Regions from separate parts of the Homo sapiens genome. Here region 2 is linked to region 1. Evidence: promoter capture Hi-C in human tissues and cell types (Jung and others, 2019). All regions are on one chromosome and are shown on one strand. Each heading gives the region's core, a stretch centred on a gene start or on the middle of the fragment in contact. The rest is flanking DNA. Distances are from core to core; before and after follow the strand shown.

Region 1 (6,548 bases), core at 1,860-4,359:
AGAGCCTGGTTTCTCTAATTCCCAGGTTAGTATTAATATTTTTTGGCTCTATTATACCTCCTAAGACAATGATTGCTGAGACAAATTGGTTATGCCTCCAAAGAACTTAATGAGGGTAATAAAAGTAAGGAAATAATTACCTGACATAGACACAGAGTAATTTAATTTAGTTTGGAACCTTGGGTCCATCTATGATTTGCCTGACTGGTACTTTCTTGTACTCCAAGCATATATTTACACACTGACAGCCAAAAGTCAGGAGTCTGCTTAAGGGATGGCTTTTTAGTCCATACAATCTTCTCTAGTAACTTATCTCCAGCTTCAACCTTTTTCCAGGTTTGCTTCTGGGGGTCATGACTCTCTCTGTTTCTTATTTAGACACAAGTTCTCCTTATTTAGGATTTCATCAGGAAGAAATCAAATCCCACATACACAGCACAGACTGAAGTATCTGATTTTTAAATGCTTTATTACATTAACTTTAGTATCATTAGCAGATGAATATAATCAGATTAACAAACTGGTTTGGCCACAAGGAAAAGAAAAAACATTTCTGAAGCTTCACAAAACTATGTGTGTAGTGTGCAAACTAGAACCAGTTATACTTTCATCACTTCACAGAACACAAGTAGTGTGGTGCATCAAGAGATGTTCCACTGCTGCACCATCACCTCCAAACTGTAGAGGAGAGATGAAGGCAAACTTTGGAGGAATTTCCAAGGCAACTGCAGTCAAACATTATCTGTAAAACTGCAGGTATAAATGGCATTATACAAAAGCTCAAACATCCTTCAAAACTTGGACTATTGAAGTCTACAATTAAATTTCAATTTTTTTAACTTACAAGGAAATCATACTCATTTAAGATACAGTTACCTCTACTTTAATCCCCAGCTCAGTCAGATATTTGTAGTCTTATCAGAAATATTTGTATTAGGTAGTTGTTTTATTTCCTATTCTATTGCTTACAATTTTAAAATCCACATTAATAACTCAGAGTAACATTTATACATAGATTAACAGAAAGGTAAACTTTAATTTCCAAATTAGGAATGAAGAAAGATGTTAAATGGCTTTGCTTTAAAAGAAACAGTACAACTGTATAGGTATAAATAATGGTTTTGTGACAATAAACATGAATTTAATACAAAGATACCAGTGCTTTTGGGCCAAAGCCAATAGACTTGACTTTTTAGAAATAAGCCTAGTTTACTTCATTAAAGTAAGTGTTACGGCTGCTATAATGTGTCTGGTACTGATTCCAAACATATCCAGCAATTCACTAGTTTTCCCACGTTGAGGCACTCCTGACACTGCCAGTTGATGAACAAGGATATCAGGCTCCCTGGAGACAGCTGCACAAACAGCTTCTCCAATGCCACCTTCCCTGTAGTGATCCTCCACTGTGATAACTCGGCCGCCTGTGGCTTTTGCACTGGAGATGATGGTGGCGGCATCCAGGGGTTTAATGGTAAATGGGTCGATGACACGGACAGAAATACCTTGTTGAGAAAGATGGTCAGCAGCTTCTAAGGCTTCATGGAGAGTAACTCCAGCTCCAATTACTGTGACTTTATCATTGACACCGTGGCGGACCACCTTGGCCTGGCCAATCTCAAAATTTTCTTGTGGGGTATAAATAACTGCAGTTTCTGGTTGGCTGGTTCGAATGAAGCACATTCCCTTGGTATTGGCGGCTAGATAAATAGCATGCTCTGTCGAGATGGCATCACTTGGATAGAAAACAGTACAATTGGGAATGCTTCGGAACATGGCTAGATCCTCCAGGGCCATCTGGGAGACTCCATCTTCTCCAGTGGATACCCCACAGTGGGAACCAATAAGGTTGATATTGGCTTGAGAAATGGCTCCCATTCGGAGCTGATCGAATGCTCTAGTAAAAAAGGCAGCAAAAGCACCAGCAAAAGCAATGGTTCGACCACGTGTAGCACAGCCTAGTGCCACACTTACCATGTTTTGTTCAGCAATAATACACTCTATGAAACGCTCAGGGTGTTCTTTCCTGAATATCTCAGAAAAGGTGGAGTTCATCGTGTCACCACTCAGAACAATAACTCTTTCATTTGCACGGCCCAGTTTAGCCAGAGCCAAACCATATGTTTTCTGAGTAGCTATCTTGTCACCAACTTTGTAAGCAGGTGGGGAGGTCATTTTTATATCTGTGATGCTTATTTGAGGTGAGTCTTCCACAGGCGATTTTGGTATGAGATTCTCATTGGTCTGTATCTGACTCTCAATTAATTTGACAATTGCATCTGCTCTTTCTTTTGGCACTGGCTTTCCATGCCAATTTTCTGCATCCTCAATATTTGGAATACCCCGACCTTTGAAGGTCTTGGCAACTATAGCAGTAGGCTTGTTCTTCACTTGACTTGCTTGCCAAAATGCTTGGCACAAGGCCTCCACATCATGGCCATCCACTAAGTAAGTATTCCATCCAAAGGCTTCACAGCAATTCTGGTAGATGTCTGCGCCATGCTCAAGGGGTGCAGGGCCACTTTGTCCCAAGCGGTTCACGTCGAAGACCGCCACGAGATTGTCCAAGTTGTAGTGGGAGGCAAAAGCAAAAGCCTCCCACACAGAGCCTTCTGAGGATTCGCCATCTCCCATAAGGCAGAACACCCGGTAGCTGGCCTTGTCAAGGTACTTGCCAGTATAAGCCATTCCACATGCAGTACCTAATCCCTGACCTAGGGACCCTGTTGCCACGTCAACAAACGGCAATCGGGGGGTAGGGTGTCTCTCCAAGTCGCTGTGAAGTTTCCTCAGGTTCAGCAAGTCAGATTCACTGATGTCACCCACCTCCACCCAAGCAGCATAGAGGATAGGAGCAGCATGTCCCCTGGAGAGGATGAACCGGTCGTTGTCCGGGTGTTCTGGGTCTGTCTGTTTATACTTCATCGTGTGGAAGAAGAGGACAGACACGACCTCCGCTGCACTGCAGCACGACGTGAGCTGGCCAGAACCAGAGGCACACGTGGCCCTGATGGAATGGATCCGCAGGCGGTTGGCTGTGTCCCGCAGCACCTGCACGGTCTTCACGTCGGGCTTGGCGTCGTTGGCCATCATCTCTCTTTTGTCGGTTTGGCAAAGCAAACGGCGCCGCAGCACCCCCACAACCCACCGCGGCAGTGCTCTCACGTGACCGCCCCGCCCTCGCCTCCCCTCTGCCTGAAGGCCTGAGCTCAGCCACCAGCCGGGGCGCCCACAACGGAGCTTCCCGCGAGACTGAGGAAACGGAAACGTTGGAGTAGCCTGCACCCTCTGATGTGCACCGTTCCCTCTCCCTGTCCACGCCCAGCTGAATGGATTTTTAGTATTTACTTTGTCACGTGCATGTTCAACATTAGGAAGCATAATTAAATTTTTTACCTTTCCCTGTGTTATAAATTCAAGACTAGACATTTTTCTGTGTATTATAGGAAGCGATTTGTCAGGCTGTGCTTTTTTAATGCATTAACACTATATCCGAGTCATCACTCTTTCATATCAGAACATTAATAGAAAGGATACAAAGTCACTTTCAATCTGACCAGTATGGCAATGCTATCTCAACAGAGACTTTCTCAGAGCAACCAAATATCTGAATCTCAGACTTATAGAAAGAAATGCAATGACTAATTTGACCAAAATTTATAGGAAGAACAAATCTGAAACCACCCAATTGCAGAATAGAATTGCAACTCCAGTGTGCCGTAAAGTACTATTTCTGTGTTGAAATAATTAGAAGGCCAGTAGGCTGAGGTAGCTTCAGCTCCATGAGTTCCTACCTAAGGAAAGGAAACCCAAATCAGTGTAAATGATAAAAAGGAAATTTAAGCTTAATCAATCAGAAACTGCCAGCTAACTTCTAACTGGGGACTTTCCACTGGGATGACCCAAATAAGTCTAGTACTCCACTTTAACCAATCAAATATCTTTCCTTTGCTTCCAAATTCACCCTATAAAAGCCTTCTCCTTGGCTCCTTTATCAGGAGCTACCAGATTCATGAATCACTGAATGGTCAAATAAATGCTTTAATATTTTAATGTGCCTCAGTTTATCTTTTAATGACTATTACTACAAATCATTTTTAAGACAAAGTTACTTACTTTAAAAAACTAAATTTGTGGGCCGGGTGCTGTGGCTCACACCTGTAATCCCAGCACTTTGGGAGGCCGAGGCAGGCGGATCACAAGGTCAGGAGTTCGAGACCATCCTGGCTAACACGGTGAAACCCCGTGTCTACTAAAAATACAAAAAAATTAGCTGGGCGTGGTGATGGGCACCTGTAGTCCCAGCTACTCGGGAGGCTGAGGCAGGAGAATGGCGTGAACCTGGGAGGTGGAGCTTGCAGTGAGCCCAGATTGTGCCACTGCACTCCAGCCTGGGAGACAGAGCGAGACTCCGTCTAAAACAAAAAAAACTAAATTTGTGCCATTGAACTCTTCTAGCAGGCCAAGGTTATGGTTTGTCATCAATAAAACAACAATTAAAAAAAACACAATGATAATATATCATACCTTCCCATATTGCGATGTTAAACCTCTTGGTTTCTTGAGCAATAATTCTTACCTTAACTTCACGTTAAAATTAGGGCACATAAGAAACACAATGCCTGGTTCCATCCCAGAAAAATAGAATTTGAATTTCTGGACCTGGAGTCTGGGAAGCTATGTTTCTAAAATACATCCATTGATTATAATGGGTAGTCAAGGTTAATAACATAATCTGGAGATAGTCTGAGACCAGTGGTTCTCAACATTAGTTGTAGTTTAGAATTATCTGGGAAGTTTTAAAAACATCTCATGTCCATGCTGCACTCCAGACCAATTATATCAGAATTTCTAGGCAATAGATCTAGGCGTCAGTAATTTTAAAATCTTCCCCAGGCAATTTCAATGTTCAGTCAGGGTTGTAAACAACTAACTCAGGGGGTGTTGTTACTCTTTATACTTATTATCTCTTGCATTATATCTCAGAAAAATATTTCAAATGTTATTTGCTATTTCAACTAGTTCTATCATTTTAACTTTTAAGGACACATATTAGAATAAATAGTAATAATATGACACTACTGATTTTAAGACTTGTTGCAGGAATGTTGGCATTGGAGAAGTTCTTAAGAGGTCATCATGTATCCATAACTCTCCATGTCCTTTGCAAATTAAAGCTTGTTTATCTTTTTAGACAAATAAAGGAGGAGGAAATACAAGCAGACTAGGCTAGAACTGGTAGTACAGAAGATGGGAATTAGAGAAAAAATAATAATCACAGTAAAATAATAGCAAACTACTACAGGCTGACAGGAAAGTAGTTAATATAAACACAGGTAGCTCACCATTATTTTGGCCAAAAAGAACTCTAATAAATCCACACAATTAGTAAACATGATAGTACAAAAATGATTTATGAGGCAATGTTCCCATGAATAAAAACATGGGACTTCTTAACATTTCTTTCCAAGTTCCCACATTCTTTCACTCATTTAAAACATTGCACAGCTATTTCCTAAAGTATTAAATAAAAAAATTTTAACATTAGCAAAGGTCAATTTTATTAAGAGAAGAATGTAGTCTTGGAGATTTAATACCCTAGATAGTGAGTGTGAATTTCCCTCTATCATTCTGTGAGACCGTGTGAATTTTTTATACTATATAGAAAATAATATTTTATAAATTATGTGTAAAATACTTATAAACCATTCTGAGATTTTGTAAAAGGAACTCTGGAAAGATATATATATATATATATATATAAATATATAAAAGTATATATATAGTAAAATATCTGGAAAGATATACTATATATAAAAGTATATATATTATATATAAAAACTCATATCAATATATGTAATATATATTAAGTTTATATAAAATTAATTTTATATTAATATGTTATATAAATAACATATATAAGCTGTTAATTATTTTCTTTAAGCATTTTAGTCTTTTAAATTTGAAATATATTTTAAAATATACAATTGAAAATATATAAATACAGGTAGAGCATCCCAAATTTGAAAATCTGATGTTTCCAATGCTCCAAAATCTGAAACATTTTGAGCACTGACATGTTACTCAGGGGAACTGCTCAAAGGACATTTTGGATTTGGGATTTTTCTGATTTGGAATGTTCCGTTGTTAAGTATAATGCAGATATTCCAAATTTTTTTTTAATTGAAATCCAAAACACTTCTGGTCTCAAGCAAATAATTTCAACTAAAGAATACTCAACTTGTTTAAAGTATGCACAATTTCATAATGCAAAATTACCCAATATGGCTGGGAACACAACTTCGTCAAATAAATCAAACAAAGACGTGATACCACCTTCTCCCCTATTTAGAAGACAAAATAGGGGAGCCAAACCCTATTTGGCTGACAAAATGTCAGCCAAAAACTTTTAAACCAGCACGCCAAAAATGTAGTTGTCTTGGAGAAAAGTTCATTATTCATTTTAGAGATCATTTTGGAAGCCAGTCAAAAATGTTCTGCAAATAGGAAAACATTATTCATTTATTATTAATCTTGGTTTATCCAGACAA
Region 2 (6,548 bases), core at 1,123-3,622, 370 kb before region 1:
GAATAATCACAAGCTGAAACATCACTTTTGAAGCTGTTATCTGTGACCCTTAACTAAAAATGCGTCAGCTATTTAATATTAAACCAATTAATATGAATATCCTATCTCATGCTGTCTCTAAACTTTAGAAGACAGTCTTTTATTATTGCATAAAAATCTGTTGGAAATAATTTCTTAAGATCATAAAGAGTGCATTACATTTTCATTATATTATAAGCAAAATTTCATCCCTACAAAATAGAATGCCTATTTAACTCAAATAAATTTGATATACTTCCTTTTGGTTAAACAAGTATATTGCATTTTATAAGTAAATTATTTGGACTTGTCTGGCTTGTATCTGTCTTAAATCTTTTAGCAGATGTGGAAAACATGTTTATTTTTGCAGTGTTCAATAATTGTCTGCTAGGTTTTGTCACTGAATGCAAGCTCTAATTCAACTTCTGCTGAGAATTAGGCTTAAGTTATGATTGAGAATAAGAAAATTATGAGCAAGTTGCCAATTATATCTTGAAAAATGTTTACTTCTAAACATTTTGTTCTAAGTTGCATATTTCATTTAAACATGTCAATATTCTTTAATATTAGTCTAATCATTTAAAGGATGTTAGTTTTTTTGTGTAAGAAACACACAATTAATCAATGCATTTTCATTAACCACACCTGTGGGAGGCCTCATTTGGATTTGAACCAGGAGACCACTATTGACAGTTATCCCAAACAAAGACATAATATTAACCTAGGAGCCCCAAATATGTGTAGTGAGGAAAACTCACAATGGTTTGCCAGTGTTCTTATTACATTATTTCAAACTAAGGAATTTGATTTTGTAAATTAAAGTATGCCAAACATCCTCAGAATCTAAGTGTTGCACTGACCAATATGGTAATGCACTAGCCCCAAGTGACTATATGCTAAATTTAATTAAAATTAAATGAAATTTAAATTTAATACTTCAGTCCCACTGCTATACTTCAAGAACTTAATCCCAAATAGCTAGCACTTTCATATTAGAAAGTGCCTATATAGTTCCTGTCCATCACAGCAGGGTATTTCATTGGACAACACTAGTCTAGCGTTTCCATTTTCTATAGTAATGAAAACTAAAGTGAAAAAGAACTACTGAAATAATATGAATAGTAAATAGTCATTTTTTTATTTCTGTATTTTTCTCTGCCCACTTGTTTCTTATATTAATACAGAATCATCCAATAAGATTTCAGCCTAAAAATGGAATAATTTATTTTAATTAATAAATAATTCAGAAAAACAATCAAGAGTTAATCTTATGTTTTCTGAGGTATGTTTTCTGAGAATATAGAAAAAAAACCTGAGTGTTAGATGAATATTAACTTATACAGAGAAATCTAAAATAAAGATCTATTTATCAGTGGCAAATTAGGCAAAACTAGTAGACAAAATTCACTTCAATTTATAGTACCACACATTTGAGAGAATCCTCCATTCTTTTCTCATATTTTCAAAGAATGATACATTTCAGGGTTATTTCTCCACGCCTACCTTTCTTAGAAAAAGTGGCTAATTTGAGGCTTTCTTTTTTTTTTTTGAGATGGAGTCTCGCTCTGTCAGCCAGGCTGGAGTGCAGTGGTGCAATCTCGGCTCACTGCAACCTCCGCCTCCTGGGTTCAAGTGATTCTCCTGCCTTAGCCTCCCGAGTAGCTGGGATTACAGGCACCTGCCACCACACCTGGCTAATTTTTGTACTTTTAGTACAGGCGGGGTTTCACCGTGTTGGCCAGGCTGGTCTTAAGCTCTGGACTTCAAGTGATCCGCCCGCCTTGGCCTCCCAAAGGGTTGGGATTACAGGCATGAGCCACTGTGCCTAGCACTTTGAGACTCTTGCTACTTACGTCATTTTGCTAGTAAAGGGGATCATTGGGCCCAAAAGCAAGTCTCTATGTGTACTTGCTGAGAGCAGCCTGTGCTCAGATACAGCAGGCTCCTTCAGCCTGCTCTTTCACTCTGTGTCCAGGTACACTGTGCTCTCGCTGTGCAATTTTCTCTCCAGGACAGAGCTTTCCCTCTTTCTGTTTCAGGTTTAGATCGTCTTGTAGGAATGACTTGACTACAATTCAAACAATATGGACCTCACTTCAGTCCCAGATCTAAGCACAGTCTGTAAAGAAGCTTTTACCTGAGAGTCCTACATTGCTCGACTATTTTAAAAAAATGGTTCCCATAGGACTATTAGTTCTCTATTATTTGTTCCATTAGCCTGAACCTGGGGAGAATAAGATTTTTTTAATAAATGGAAAGCACAATGTACAATAGTGTTTCTTAAGCTTTTTTGGTTATCCCCTCCACCCTGCTTGCCAAGGAGCCTTTTTAGATATTTTTTCCCTAATCCCCCACTATGAAATTATAATACCCCAGATATGCTGTATCTGTAATTACTGTATGTATGTCTGTGCTTAATATTGTACATTAAAAAGATAAGAACTTTCCACCTTCCAATAATGAAGTTTTATCCCCTTGGGGGCGATATTGCCCTCTTTGATAATGTTTGACATACAGGAATTGAAACATCAGAAATAGATACTACTTTCAATATTGCAGAACATTGTCAAGTATATTTCAAACCATTTAGCTTGCTAGAGTGTGGAAATTAAGAAAATTTTTTTTTCTTCCTGCATGCAACATAATTTGCATATATCAACAGCGATGTAAGTAAGGAAATAACTTATTTGGGCTTTCTGAAAAGTCATAGTATCTGAAATCACCTGGCCCTTGACCTTAAAAGATCTTATGTCATTCTACTCCAGCATTTTTCACTGTAATTGCTTATAGGCAGGGAAGGATTGTGGAAGAATGAGAGACAAGGATATGGAGAAAGAACAGAGAAATGGCTGTAGGTACCTAGATCATGGCATATGGTACATCTTTAACTTTCCAATAACCATTAATTCAAGCCCATTAGCCAATAGCTTGCTCATGTTTCTTTTGAAGCCTCCTAAAACAATAGTTGACACCTGGAGAACATCTCTTACTCCCCAACTTCAATTATGAAAAGAAAATAATATTCAAATGTTAAGCACTGAATTCAATAAGAGAAAGCCAGTCACAGATTAAAGAAATAATTGCTAAGATTTACACTAACCTGTTTTTTCACTTAGTCAAAAATGTCCTCCATATTGGTTGATAAATCAAGAAATCTTTACAATTAAAATAAATGGTGCTTCACTGATATTTTCTTCCATTATGCTTTATAAAACTAATAGAATATGGGTTTTCAAAGAGTAACATATTATTCTTAAAATGTATTCAATTAAAGTTAACACAGGCAAAAATACACTCTCTAATGTATTCTATCATGCATTCCCTCATTCAGTGAATACTCTCTGTGGGCCTACTATGTGCCAGGCATTATGCACCAGACGAAAACATATCTTCTTGAGAAGCCAGTGCTAAGTCACTGTTCTTGTTCATATTTGGATCCCTTCCCTTTTCAGGTGAGTTTCTTACAAGAAAAGGGCTTAGTGTCTTTTCCCTTTGTTAAGTTTCTTAATGAAATTAGGCTTAGGAAGACTGAGTTCCCTATTCCGTCCTTTCTCTTCCTAAATCTTTACTGTATGTTGAGAGTAAATATTAAAAACTTTCTGACTGTACTTATCATATTCCAAGGCATTTCAGTGAGGAGCAGAAACAAGCTTTTTATTAAATCATCTCCAGTCATGTAAGGTTTTGGTGCTCTCCTTTTCACCCTTTTTTTTTTTTTTTTCACATGGAAACTTAATCTTGGAGGGGCTAAGTGAATACAACTTCGATTAAATTACTACTTTCACAAACAACTCAAGAATACTTAGTTCTTCTCCCTCTTCATTAGCTTCTATCTTCGTATTTCTTATCAAATATAAAATTTATAGAGAATTTATACCATAAATTCTCTCAAATGATGCACTTAAAATAATTTCATGATTAAAAACTAATATTATCTACCTATGCTAATCTGAAACATTAGCCTACAATTGTTATTTATTCACTTTGGGGAAAGAAGAAAAAAGTTTTGAGTAGTTACACTCCATTTATTAAAAATCCTTTATTTTCTAGTGTCTAAAATATTTCAATGTCTAGGAAGAAAAAAAATCCTCTTGTGAGGTTAATAATGTATTCAAAGCATTTTTCTATTAGTTAGTGAATTTAAAAAGCACATACAGAAAGAACACAAGTGGTAACAGAAAAGTGAGGATGATCTAACCCTACCTCACAGCCTAAAAAAAGAATGCTATGACTTGTTTCTGTGAGGTCCCCAAGTGGCAAGGAGAGAGTGCTCCATGGGGAGCTAACACCTGACATTTTGCACAGAAAGGTGTCTCCTAGAATTACCTCACACTCTGCATAGATATAGAGATTACTGTCATCTTCAGTGAGTTTGAGAGGGGCCTATAAATAGGATCAGGTGAGGTCTGAATAAGCAATGATGTGTGTCTGATCTTCTGATCCAGAATGAAATGAAAACATAATTAGTTAACACGGAATGTGCTTTTAAAATGCAGATATGTAATCCTTATCTTACTTTTGTATGTCTCTCATTTTTACCTTTGTTTACTGCAAATGATATGTGAGGTAGCATCCTGCCCTATTAAGTATGCAGATATGGAGAACATTCAGTAAGATAGCTTTTCATTATTTATTTAGGCAGAACATACAGTACTTGAAATCTGTGGGTTGCCATGAGGTTCCCATGGCAACTCTTCTATGGATAAGAATGCTTGACTAGGCTGGTAGACTTGCTGTTACCATCACCAGCCATACCATCATTTGAGGATACAGTACTCTCCCCTCATCTGTGCTGTCACTTTTCGTGGTTTCAGTTACCTTCAGTCAACCATGGTCTGAAAATAGGTGAGGTAAAATCAGATATTTTGAGAGAGAAAGAATACATTCACATAACTGTTACTACAAAATATTGTTATAATTGTCCTATTGTATTATTAGTTGTTGTTAATCTCTTACTGTGCCTATTTCCTAAATTAATCTTTATCATAGGTATGTAAGTATAGGAAAAATCATGGTATATATAGGGTTCGCTACTATTTGTGATTTCAGGCATCCGCTGGTCTTGGAACATATCCCCCAAGGCTCAGGGGGAGCTACTGTATCATCATCTTAACTTTGAAAGTTAACTTGTAAATGAATTTTGCATATTCTCTTACTGATCTGGAAATCTAAGGTCAAGCAAAAGTGATGTTTATTTGCTTCAATACATTTCCACTGAAAGAGGACAGGAACTAGAGACAGATTTTAAGCTTTCAGTTTTGTTTTTGGTTTTCCTATTTTTGTTTCCATCAAGTTAAATTCTACTATGGATTTTTTTAACTCAAAATTGATGAGCTCTAGCACTTTGTAGCGTAGTTATTTACATATTTAGTCTTAGGAACCTGGAACTGTAATCTCTAGGGATTTATTTATATTTTTTAAAAATGGATTAAGGCCTACATCAAAACTGAGATAGAGCTGCTTGAGTTTTGTTTCTCCCTCTATAATAACTAGAAATTGTATTCCTTTTCACATATTAAACACCGGAAACATTTTAAAAAAGGTAAACCCCAAAAATTGCTTTTTGAAGGTTCCTCAGAAAACTCCTTACTAATTTATATCTCGCAAAAAAACTTTTTTGTAGATTTCTGGACATAACTTCAACTATTGCATAACTACCTTTTGTTTTTTTCAGAAGTGACAAGTGTTGAATATATACTTCTAGATACAAAGCTGAAGGACTGATTTGGTGTTAAAAAAATAGGTGAATATGAGTCAAGTTAGGAAGTAATTGAATACCAGAGGAGAGGGAGGAAGTAGTGGGAAAATGTCTTTGGTAGTTGTCAACCCATTTGAAACATTTAAATTCAGAGTGCTATCCCTAGAAAATTGGAAAGCAGGTTAATTCTTTAACCACCATTATTCCCTCCCCATCTCTGAGCATAAAGTAAAAGTAATATACAATCCTTATTGTTCTTCTATTTTGTTTTGAAACACAAAATAAAATGAAATAGAATGAGCTTGATCAACTGGAAGGATGGAGTTGTCATAAACTGAGGGAGCAGAAATGTCCAGTGGCGCAAGTTTGGGGTGAATTTAGAATTCATTTTGGACGTTAACATACCTATTAGTCATTTAAATAAAGATGTCAGGGAGTTTGTGCATTTCTGAGTCCAAGTGTCTGGAAGAGAAATGTGTACATAAAAAACATAAATGGATCAAGCATGAACTCTGTGACCCTCCTACCTTAAGAGACAGGGAAAAGAGAATCAATTAGAAAAGGGGACTGAGAAAGTAGAGCCACCGCTAGTGTTTTGTTCTAGGTAAATGGCATTTCTTCGAATTGTGCACTAGGTGGCCCATCTGAGAGTGAGCCGTGAACTAGGAGGAGAAAAAAGTAAAAGAGTTTGATGTCCTGGAAGCCAAGTGGGAAACATTTTAAGGAGTAGAAAATTTTATCAATCACGCAAAAAACGTTAAGTATGATGAAGACTGAGGTCAGACCATCATAGTTTGCACTGTAAAAGCCATTGATGACTTTGAAAAGGGCA

What was found. Contacts are between HindIII fragments. The study calls those that stand out against the background at their distance.
Region 2: a fragment that was not itself captured here is called in contact with the fragment with the promoter of TKTL2 in region 1 in 2 of the 25 tissues and cell types used here (heart left ventricle and lymphoblastoid cells).

Annotation. Positions count from the first base shown.
Region 1 is chr4:163,470,645-163,477,192 of GRCh38, forward strand. It overlaps TKTL2 (transketolase like 2), which reads right to left and starts at 3,110. Exons shown (of 1, transcript NM_032136.5): 1 at 451-3,110. The coding sequence starts at 3,090. The coding sequence ends at 1,210. The HindIII fragment of the contact is 4,534 bases long and covers 1-4,507 here.
Region 2 is chr4:163,105,438-163,111,985 of GRCh38, forward strand. It overlaps LOC101928081 (a long non-coding RNA gene), which reads left to right and starts at 4,778. Exons shown (of 3, transcript XR_244745.4): 1 at 4,778-4,863. It also overlaps a transcript of NAF1 not described here. The HindIII fragment of the contact is 4,189 bases long and covers 279-4,467 here.